Linked DNA regions of Homo sapiens: regions 1 and 2 are each linked to region 3. The links are contacts of gene promoters, found by promoter capture Hi-C in blood cells and fetal thymus (Javierre and others, 2016). All regions are on one chromosome and are shown on one strand. The core of a region is centred on a gene start or on the middle of the fragment in contact, and the rest is flanking DNA. Distances in the headings are between cores, read along the strand shown. Region 1 holds the start of ZNF44 (zinc finger protein 44). Region 2 has its middle 3.1 kb from the start of ZNF440. Region 3 holds the start of ZNF878 (zinc finger protein 878).

The links. The method cuts DNA at HindIII sites, captures the fragments that hold promoters and counts their contacts. A CHiCAGO score of 5 or more calls a contact.
Region 1: a contact is called between the fragment with the promoter of ZNF44 here and the fragment with the promoter of ZNF878 in region 3, in 1 of 17 cell types (neutrophils). The highest score is 5.2, in neutrophils.
Region 2: a contact is called between a fragment that was not itself captured here and the fragment with the promoter of ZNF878 in region 3, in 1 of 17 cell types (fetal thymus). The highest score is 5.7, in fetal thymus.

Annotation. Positions count from the first base shown.
Region 1 is chr19:12,293,247-12,296,831 of GRCh38, reverse strand. It overlaps ZNF44 (zinc finger protein 44), which reads left to right and starts at 1,949. Exons shown (of 4, transcript NM_016264.4): 1 at 1,949-2,140. The coding sequence starts at 2,138. RefSeq lists an enhancer at 1,565-1,614 and a silencer at 2,165-2,394. The HindIII fragment of the contact is 16,141 bases long and covers 1-3,585 here.
Region 2 is chr19:11,809,242-11,813,020 of GRCh38, reverse strand. No RefSeq gene overlaps it. Among named protein-coding and RNA genes, the nearest start is that of ZNF440, 3.1 kb to the left of the region's middle. RefSeq lists a silencer at 648-757. The HindIII fragment of the contact is 8,771 bases long and covers 1-3,779 here.
Region 3 is chr19:12,051,002-12,054,452 of GRCh38, reverse strand. It overlaps ZNF878 (zinc finger protein 878), which reads left to right and starts at 1,492. Exons shown (of 4, transcript NM_001080404.3): 1 at 1,492-1,654. The coding sequence starts at 1,652. RefSeq lists an enhancer at 1,153-1,658 and a silencer at 1,847-1,896. The HindIII fragment of the contact is 8,690 bases long and covers 1-2,427 here.

The sequences.
Region 1 (3,585 bases), core at 700-3,199, 240 kb before region 3:
GGCTCTTAGGCACAGCTAACTTTGGAAGATAGCTTAAATGATAATAAGCCTTCCCCAAAACTCAACTGCCTTTGTAAAACGAATGAATGGCCATCAGGCTGAGGGATGAAAGGAATCGGAATGCTGCTAAAGTGTAGACATAGATTGCCAGCTATTTCTGCAGATAACACCACTATTGTAGATTAGCATTTGTAGACGTATTTTCAGTTTTTGTTTGTTTGTTTGTTTTTTTTTTGCATGTCTGACACCACCTGCACCTGCCAACTCTGCTCCTGTGGCCCCAACCAGAAGTGATTCAGCATAACAGGATAGGTTTTTTTTTTTTTTGTCTTTTTTTTGTTTTTTTTTGAGACGGAGTTTCGCTCTTGTTGCCCAGGCTGGAGTGCAAAGGCACGATCTCGGCTTGGCGCGATCTCAGCTCACCGCAACCTCCACCTCCCGGGTTCAAGTGATTCTCCCGCCTTAGCCTCCCAGGTAGCTGGGATTACAGACATGTGCCACCACGCCCAGCTAATTTTGTATTTTTAGTAGAGACGAGCTTTCTCCATGTTGGTCAGGCTGGTCTCAAACTCCCGACCTCAGGTGATCCGCCCGCCTGGGCCTCCCAAAGTTCTGGGATTACAGGTGTGAGCCACCGGGCCCGGCCTCTTTTTTTCTTTTTTAAATATGTAGCAGTACAAGCCGCAGACAAGAACCCCTCAGACACCGAGTTGTGGAAGGAAAGGGCTTTATTCAGCTGGGCTGGGAGCATCGGCGGACTCACGTCTCCAAAAACCGAGCTCCCCGAGTGAGCAATTCTTGTCCCTTTTAAGGGCTTACAACTAGGAGTCCGCGTGAGAGGGTCGTGATTGATGGAGCAAACAGTGGGTACGTGACTGGGGGCTGCATGCACCGGTAACCAGAACTGAACAGAACAGGACAGGGATTTTCACAGTGCTTTTCCATACAATGTCTGGAATCATAGATAACACAGTTAGGTCAGAGGTTGATTTTTAACTACCCAGCCCAGGGCACAAGCCGGGTTATCTGCCTGTGGATTTCATTTCTGCCTTTTAGTTTTTACTTCTTCTTTGGAGGCAGAAATTGGGCATAAGACAATATGAGGGGTGGTCTCCTCCCTTATAGTATAGAGACGGAGTTTCACTCTATGTCCAGGCTGGTCTTGAACTACTGGCCTCAAGCGATCCTCCCACCTAGGCCTCCCAAAGTATTGGGATTACAGCGGTGAGCCACCACGCACTGCCAAGAGGACAGATTCCATCCCCAGTGATTTCATCCCCACCCCAACCAGTCAGTAGCAAGCCTAGCTACCTCCACCCTTTCTCCCAAACTGCCCTTGAAAAACCCCTACCAGAGGACCTTGGATGAGAATAATTTGAGTAGTAACTCCGTCTCTCACGTATCGTAGCTGGCCTAGTGTTTATTAAACTTTTTTTTTAACTGCAATACCGTGGTCTTTATTTGCGTAGCGCGCAGAAAGAACCCATCCAGCGCTTATAGTGGAAGAAAGGCTTGACCTTGCAGGCGACAGCCTCATCCCAAATTCCTGGTCCCTGGAGGACATCAGCACCACCCCCCCACCCACCCACCCCCTGTCCCCCGCTGCTACAGTGTGGCCTGTGTGGCCTCGGCTGCCCTCCTGCTCTGAGGCCAAGGGATGGCTCCACTGGACAGTGAGTCTGGGATTCCTTGCACACAATTGTTCAGGAGGAAGAAGCAAAAAGGGCCCACTGCGTACAGGTAGGAAATTCCGCTTTAAGGCAAACGTTTCCCGGGACGGGTCGGGTCACAACGCAGGGAGGAAGCCCGCCCTGCCAGGGGCCGGGTCTGGAACCTGTTCATCCGGCTGCACTCAGCACTGTGAGATCGCTTCTTCTGTCACTCAGTGCCCAGGAGGCGGGACCTGGAGGGCTACCCAATCAAAGTCGTGGGCGGGTTCCTGAGAATTGTCAATCAGGCGCGAGGCAGAGAGGAGGGTGTGACGTTCCAGGAGCTAGTGGCCTCTTCACCCTGGTGACCTCTGTTCCGTATTCTGTCACTGAGAGACGCCCTGGGACATCTGTGGTGGCTTTTGTCGCGCTGGGACCTACCCTGACTACGGGAGTTGGGAGGACCCGGGACACCGCACAGCCGGGAAATGGTGAGTGTGCGGGGCCCGGCGTCCTGAGGCAGGGCGAAGGGCTGGTCGGAACCAGTCGGAACCGGCTGTGGCGGGACCCGGGCCTCGCCGCAGCGTCTTTGGGGTCTGGGACCTGAGCGCCCCCTGCGCACCTCGGTCCTCGGTCCGTTTGGCCGCAGGGTGGGGCTGGGCCGGCAGCCGGGACCCCGGGCGTCCTGTCCCGTCCCTGAGCTGCGACTGCGGCCCCGGCCCCGGCGCCCCTCTCTGGGCAGCTCCGCGCCCTCAGCCCCGCTTCTCCCCAGATTGTGCGGCGGAACCAGTACAGGTTCGCAGCCCAAGTCACTGCACCCGGACGCCGAGGGCTGCAGCAGAAACGGTTTAATAGGAGAGGACACCCTAGATCCGCCTCCGTGAGAGGTTTGAGGATGGGGTGTTTAGGGGTCTGGACGGGGGTGGTTGGGATGTGGGGTCGCTGGTTGGTGGAGAAGTGAGGGGTGAATCTTGGGACTGGAGGTGAAGAAACCGCATTCTGCTGCTGAGTGGGCTTCCTTGTGGGGTCTTCAGCCTGCTTGGCGCCAGCCTTTCCGCTGGAATTCAAGATCTGAGAAAGAACTTAGACGACTCTTGAGCAACTCTCAGAGATCTTATCCCCAGGCCAATGGGGAAGCCGGCGGTCAGCGTCTGCTGTGACCTGACTCTCAGGGAGGCGGCTTCCTGTGAAGCAGCGGGGCTGAGGGCACCTGGTTAATATCTAACTGCAATCTCGCCTCCAGCCTGGCTCGCAGTTCCTGTGAGCCCGGTGAGGAGGCTGCACGGTGACGGTGGGAGGGTCACTAGGCACAAACCAGACTCGTGTGTGGGGTTTGTGTGTGGGAGGAGCTGTGGTCTCTGTGCTCTTCAGTCCTTTCTTTCCAAGGGCGACCATTTCTCCTCCGAGGCTTTCAAAGATATTGGCATCAGGGTCTTTGAGACCTGTCCCTTCATCCTAACTCCTCTTGGGGCTAACAGTAAATCTTTTGGTTTCCAGAGCCTTCCATATGCTAACTTCACTCCTCAATTCCCAGTAACGTTATGAACCCTTTGTCAGCAAGACGATATTTCAAATAGACACAGAATTTTGTCGTTTGTTTTCAGATAGCAATGTATGGCTCTTTTTAAACAGATTTATTTTGTTTTCCTTAACATTTCACATGTGAGGAAGAAGAGAATAACCACCTGACACTGCTGTAAAAAAAACCAAACCTTTGTGCCTCTTTTATCTCCCCTAGGCACAGATGCCTTCTCAGTATGTCCTTTACAGGGTGATGTGACCTCAGCCCACCCTGTATCTTTTCCAGGCCCTGTGTTATGGAACTTTCTGGGGCTACCCTAAGATGCTGGAAGCTGCCAATCTCATGGAGGGCCTAGTGGATATCGGCCCTTGGGTCACTCTTCCCAGAGGACAGCCTGAGGTGTTGGAGTGGGGC
Region 2 (3,779 bases), core at 665-3,164, 240 kb after region 3:
TGCCACCATGCCTGGCTAGTTTTTTATTTTTGGTAGAGATGAGGTCTCATTCGGTTGTTCAGGTTGATCTCAAACTCCTGAGCTTAAGTGATCCTCCAGCCTCAGCCTCCCAAAGTGTTGGGATTACAGGTGTGCGCCTGGCCTCTTGGGCATCTTCATTGCTCCACACCTTACAATGATAAATTCAATATTCTGTGAATATTTCCTGGAGAAATTAGCACAGCCATAACTTGTGATAAGGTAAATCAGGTGTTGAAATTTGAACATTCCTGGAAACTTCATTTAATAAACCTAATTTTGCTTATGTGTGAAAGTATTCATACATATTCATTGTTCAGACACAGATAACCATGGCAAGATGAGGTGCTATGAAAAACTATGTTGGGACAACAGGTACTATCAAGGATTATCACTGGCAAACCGGGACACATGGTCAGATGATTTCTGAGGCAGTTTTGTACCTTATGTAAAGGTAGAAAGTGTTGGAACTAGAAGACATCGAGCTGGAGTCAGTTGCAGAATTGATGCTTTGCTTGGCATGTGGGGGACACTTCTCAAATATTTGCATTTGGTCACAGAAGTATTCCGTGTTGTGTGAGAGCAGAGGAAAAAGAGTAGACTTTTTTTCCACTCTTAAGTCTCAGCACAACTCAGAAATCCAGTCCCCCAGACAGGATGTGTGGATGTTAAAGTCGCCCTCACCACAAGAGGGAGCTTCATTGACTTCCCCTATCTGGAAAATGGCTCAAAGGTGTTTTCTAAAAGACTTTTTAATGTAAGGCATATCAGTTATTAGAAATAAAGGTAGGACAGGTGTGGTGGCTCACACCAGTAATACCAGCATTTTGGAAGGCCAAGGTAGGAGGATCGCTTGAGGCCAGGAGTTTGAGACCAGCCTGGGCAACATAGTGGGACCCTGTCTCTACCCGAAAAAAGAAAAAAAGTTAAGGTAACATCACTGAATTTGGTTTCATTTACATGATTTTTCTTTTCTTTTCTTCTTTCTTTCTTTCTTTCTTTCTTTCTTTCTTTCTTTCTTTCTTTCTTTCTTTCTTTCTTTCTTTCTTTCTCTCTCTCCCTCTCTCTCTCTCTCTTTCTTTCTTTCTTTCTTTCTTTCTTTCTTTTTTTTTTTTTACAAGGTCTCCCTCTGTCACCCAGGCTGGAGTACAGTGGTGCAAACAGAGCTCACTGCAGCCTTGATCTTCCGGACTCAAGCAATTCTCCCACCTCAGCCTCCCAAGTAGAGCCTGGGACCACAGGTGTGCGCCACCAAGCCCAGCGAATTTTTGTATTTTTTGTACAGATGGGGTTTCACTGTGTTGCCCAGACTGCTCTCCAACTCCTGGCCTCAAGTGACCCTCCCACTTTAGCTTCCTAAAGTGCTGGGATTACAGGTTCTGAGGCACCATGCCTGGCCAATTTAATTTTTCATAGATTGATTTTTAAAAAGTAATGAACCTGGCTGGGCATAGTGGTCATGCCTGTAATCCCAGCACTTTGGGAGGCTGAGGTGAGTGGATCACCTGAGGTTGGGAGTTCGAGACCAGCCTAGCCAACATGGTGAAACCCCATCTCTACTAAAAATACAAAAATTAGCTGAGTGTGGTGGTGCATGCCTGTAATCCCAGCTACTAAGGAGGCTGAAGCAGGAGAATCGCTTGAACCTGGAAGGTGGAGGTTGCAATGAGCCGAGATCACACCATTGCACTCCAGCCTGGGCAGCGACAAAGAGAGACTCTGTCTCAAAAAAAGAAAAAGAAAAAGAAAAAGAATAAGCAATAAACCCTGTGAACTTTGATTAGATTTCCCAGATCCTAAAAAGTGCAGTGTAACAAAAAACTGAATGGAAAGAAGTAGGACTAACTGAGGTGAGAGGAAGAACCCTCTGTGGAGGTGACATTTGAGGTGACCTGATATAATGTATTAGTATAAAGAAAATGTTAAAATGAACATTATGGGAGGCCATTGTTTTGGACTGAGCTTCTGCACTAGGCACTTAGAAACCAGATCAGACCAAAATGGAGTCACTCATGCTAAATGCCACATAACGAAACTGAAACTTAAAGGAAGCGAATAGATCCCTATACAGATGAATTTTTCCATCGAAAACCAGTTCAGTATCCTGTTGGCCAGACTGGTCTCAATTTGAGAAACATCAAGACACCTCCATAGTCAAGGCTAATAATGTCCAGGCTGTGTCCTGTTCATCACCTAAACCTGCACCTCTAGTGTTCCTTACCTTCACTGGCCATCCCAACACAGTGCCCGCCTCCTGTAGAAAATCACATCTGGAGTGAAGTTGGTGGCGTTGTTTGTACTCTAACCAAACTCTCAGAGTGCATTTGGCCTTCAAGGGAGAAGGATGAGGTCGTGTTTGGTTTCAGACACACCTAACTCTGTATTACCATCTCTTTCTTGATCTAAGCGACACTCTATAAAAACTGATAGGCAATGGGCTGGGTGCAGTAGCTCACGCCTGTAATCCCAGCACTTTGGGAGGCCGAGGCAGGTGGATCACAAGGTCAGGAGTTCAAGACTAGCCTGGCCAACATGGTGAAACGCCGTCTCTACTAAAAATACAAAAATTAGCCGGGTGTGGTGGCGGGCACCTGTAATCCCAGCTACTTGGGAGGCTGAGGCAGGACAATAGCTTGAACCCAGGAGGCAGAGGTTGCAGTGAGCCAAGATCGTGCCACTGCACTCCAGCCTGGGTGACAAAGTGAGACTCCATCTCAAAAAAAAAAAAAATGACAGGCAATGACAGTACCTTTCACTTATGTTGATACCTAATCTGGGGATGGATGTGTCATCTGCACATAGAGTCAGGGGTTGGTCACTCATTGCTGCTCTGTCCTGTGGTACCAGGTTTTGACTCTAGGGGGTTTCAAACAGGCTTCTCTGAAGAAGAGTTTGGCTGGCACTTCAAAAAAGTGATTGGATTGGTCCATGCCACTGCATAATATATAAAACTAACTTTTCCATGTTGCCTATTACTCTACAGTGTGGCATAAAAGGGTTGCTGAACTCCTGTTCGAGATCAGCCTGGGCAACATGGTGAAACCTTGTCTCTAAAAAAAAAAATACAAAAATTAGCTGGGCATGGTCCCAGCTACTTGGGAGGCTAAGGTGGGAGGATCGCTTGAGCCCAGGAGGTGGAGATTGCAGTGAGCCGAGATCACGCCACTGCACTCCACATAGCCTGGGTGATAGAATGAGACCCTGTGTCAAAAAGAAAAAAGAGGGGTGCATCAAGAGCATATTATCTGAGCAAGAAAGGCTTGGTTGGAATAGTGATACTGACTTTCATCCTTCCTAGGCGTGCATTCAGACAGTTACATAAATATATTGACCACACTTGACTCAGTAAGGAATTTCTTTAAAAGTATTATACAGCTTCCTAAGGAGTAAGTGATTTTATATATTTTTAACTGGAGCATTTTGTGGAACAGTGTTCATACACTCTAAGAAATATCTTAGGTTTTGGAGAATAAGTAAAGCAAAAACAGGTCCACAAGTCTGGGAGCTGCCTCCCCTCACCACAAGGCCAAATCTTAAGCCATGTCAGACACCTGCAGTGTGAAGCAGTGCTCCTCAGTGACCATGATGGAGCAGGACAAAAACGAGGGCATTCTGTAACCACGTCCCTAGATGGGATAGAAGAAAACATATTTCAAATCATAAAAATAACCAAAAATTCCAGTTCCCCTCTTCTCATAATGGACTGACCAGCAATTGTCTTCAATTAGGTTTACCTCCAATCCATTCTTTCTCCTTCTAGG
Region 3 (3,451 bases), core at 243-2,742:
ATCCACCCACCTCGGCCTCCCAAAGTGCTGGGATTACAGGCATGAGCCACCATGCCTGGCCCTAATCTATTTACTTATCTTTTTGGTAGAGACCTGGTCTCACTGCGCCCGGCCACTGGTTTTTTGTTTTGTTTTGTTTTGTTTTTTTGAGACACAGTCTTGCTCTGTGGCCCAGGCTGGAGTACAGTGGTGCGATCTCTGCTCACTACAAGCTCCACCTCCCGTGTTCTCGCCATTCTCCTGCCTCAGCCTCCCGAGTAGCTGGGACTACAGGCGCCCACCACCACGCCCGGCTAATTTTTTTTTTGTATTTTTAGTAGAGACGGGGTTTCACCGTATTAGCCAGGATGGTCTCGATCTCCTGACCTCGTGATCCGCCCACCTCGGTCTCCCAAAGTGCTGGGATTACAGGCGTGAGCCACTGCGCCCGGCCAGCGCCCGGCCATTTAAAAAAATTTTAAATAATAAAGACAGGGATCGGCGGGCGAGGTGGCTCACGCCTGTAATCCCAGCACTTTAGGAGGCCGAGGCGGGCGGATCACCTGAGGTCGTGAGTTCGAGACCAGCCTGACCAACATGGAGAAACCCCGTCTCTACTAAAAATACAAAATTAGCGGGGCGTGGTGGCGCATGTCTGTAATCCCAGCTATTTGGGAGGCTGGGGCAGGAGAATCGCTTGAACCTGGGAGGCGGAGGTTGCAGTGAGCCAAGATCTCGTGCCACTGTGCTCCAGCCTGGGCGACAGATCGAGACTGTCTAAAAAAAAAAAAAAAAAAGAAAGAAAGACAGGGATCTCGCTGTGTTGATGATGTTGGCCTCAAACTCCTTGCTTCAAGGGATCCTTCCGCCTCAGTTTGCCAATGTGGTGGGATTATAGACATGAGTCACCATGTGCTACCTCTCTTCAGATTTTAAAGGTGTCAAACTCTCAATAGCTTTTAGATCAGGGAAAGGAAAAGAACGGGGGAGCTGGCAGTGCTTCATTAACGGAGATTCTCTACAAATGTAAATTTCCCCCTCAAAAGACAGTTTTGCAAGGCCACCTTTTGTTTGCTGGCCAAGCAGCAGCCATTTCAAAACTGTCAAAGAAATATATTTTGGCAGGGCAATATCTTGGGGCAAAATATTTTAATGTCTTTCACATTTTGTGGACACTGAATCTGGAATTCCCTGCACACTTGTGTCCCGTGTAGGATGAAGGGGCAGGGACGGCCCACGGAGTGAGGAAGACAACAGTGTCCCTTCTAGCAGTTCGGAGCAAGTTTGGCCGAAGGCAAATATTCGAAGTAAAGGTGGGAGGGAGGGAGGGAGCTGACCTTGGAAAGTGTGGCCAGAACCAGTCGCTTCGGCTCTGCAGCGCCCAGTTACCCGGGGCTTCTGCTGTCACTCAGGGAAGGGGGCGGAGTCTAGACCCCTATCCAATCAGGGGCGCTAGGGCGGGGCCCTGCCACTGTCCTCCAGGGAAGGGGAGGTTGCATTCCCGCTCTCTTCACTCCTAGGGCTGCTCGCGCTAGTTAAGGTCTGGGGCTTTCTTGCTCCGAGAGGGACCAGTTACTTCCGCCGTAGCTGCTGTTGCTCTGTCGACTGCGCTGTGACCTGCACTGTTCACGGGACCTTTAGAGAGGACGCCAGAATACCTGGAAGCCAGGAAATGGTGAGCATGCGGTGCTGGGGAGTCCCAAGGCGAAAGGAGGGACTGGGTGGAACCGAGAGGAACCCGCTGTGGCGGGGCCCGGGCCCCCCTGCAGCGACTCTGGGCTCCAGACACAGTCCCCCTAGCGCAGCTCGGCCCTCGGTCCCCTCGGCCGCTGGGTGGAGCTGGGCCGGCAGCCGGGACCCCGGGCGTCCTGTCCGGTCCCTGCGCGGCGACTGCGGCCCCGGCCCCGGCTCCCTCTCTGAGCAGCTCCGCGCCCGCAGCCCCGCGTCTCCCCAGATTGTGCGGTGACCATGGAAGGGTCATGGGGGATCCTGCCTCGGGTGTGGGGTTCGTGTGGGAGGAGCTGTGGGCTGTGGGGTCCCCAGTTCCTTTTTTTTTCCAGTTAAAAATTAAACTGAGGCACTGTTAAAAAATGAGAGTTTATTTTAGCAAACAGCGATTAATGAATGAGAAACTCCCAGTCCTGGCTTGTGGTTTGGTAACGGAAAAACCCAAATCGTGTAGAATAAGTTTATTCTGAGCCGAATAGGAGAGACCTCGGCTGAGGGAAACACAACCCCGCGAAGTCTGGAGTAAGCAATCCCGAGGCAGCTCCTGACAGTTTGGTTTTATTCATTTCAGGGAGACAGGAATTGCAGGAAAATGATGAATCAGTGCCGGGAAGGTGTAAGTTCCTTTGGCCGAAAGGCGGGACACATGGAAGCGGGGTTAGAAGGCACAGGTGGTGGAGGGATTCTGTAGGTGGCAGTTGGTTGAGAGTGTGTAAAGCTTTGTCTAAAATTTGGAGGCTGTAGGAAGGAGGGCTGTTATCTGCCACGTTATTCCATCCCAGTCCCCGCCCCCTTCCCCAAAAGACCTGTTTTTATTTTACCAGATTTTTATATTTTTGAGACGGAGTCTCGCTCCGTCGCCCCAGGCTGAAGTGCTGTGGCGCCATCTCGGCTCACTGCAACCTCCGCCTCCCGGGTTCAAGCGATTCTCTTGCCTCAGCCTCCCGAGTAGCTGGGACTACAGGCGCCAGCCACCACGCCCGGCTAATTTTTGTATTTTTAGTAGAAACGGGTTTCACCATATTGGCCAGGCTGGTCTTGAACTCCTCCTGACTTTGTGATCCGCCCACTTCGGCCTCCCAAGGTACTGGGATTACAGGCGTGAGCCACTGCGCCCGGCCAATTTTTGTATTTTTAGTAGAGACGGGGTTTCATGATATTGGCCAGGCTGGTCTCGAACTCCTGACCTCGTGATCCACCCTCCTCGGCCTCCCAAAGTGCTGGGATTACAGTGGAATGCCCCACTGCACTCCAGCCATGGTGAAAGAATGAGACTGTCTCAAAAAAAAAAAGTTAAGCTCCTTCTTATATAGGCAAAAAACAAAGAAATTTAATTATCGCAACAATTAGTACAACTAAATTAATTGTACAATTAATTTAATACAACTAATTAGTACAACTAAATTAATTATACAATTTAGTTACAGGTTTTTTTGTTTGTTTGTTTGAGACGGAGTTTCGCTCTTGTTGCCGAGACTGGAGTGCAATGGCGCAATCTCGGCTCACTGCAACCTCCGCCTCCCCGGTTCAAGCGATTCTCCTGTATCAGATTACAGGCGTGAGCCACCGCGCCCGGCCCAGGACTTTAAAATTTTCTTTGCAAGGGGTTTTAATTTCTTTTCTTTTCTTTTTTTTTTTTTTTTTTTTTTTGAGACGGAGTCTCACTCTGTCACCCAGGCTGGAGTGCAGTGGCGCGATCTCTGCTCACTGCAAGCTCCGCCTCCCGGGTTCACGCCATTGTCCT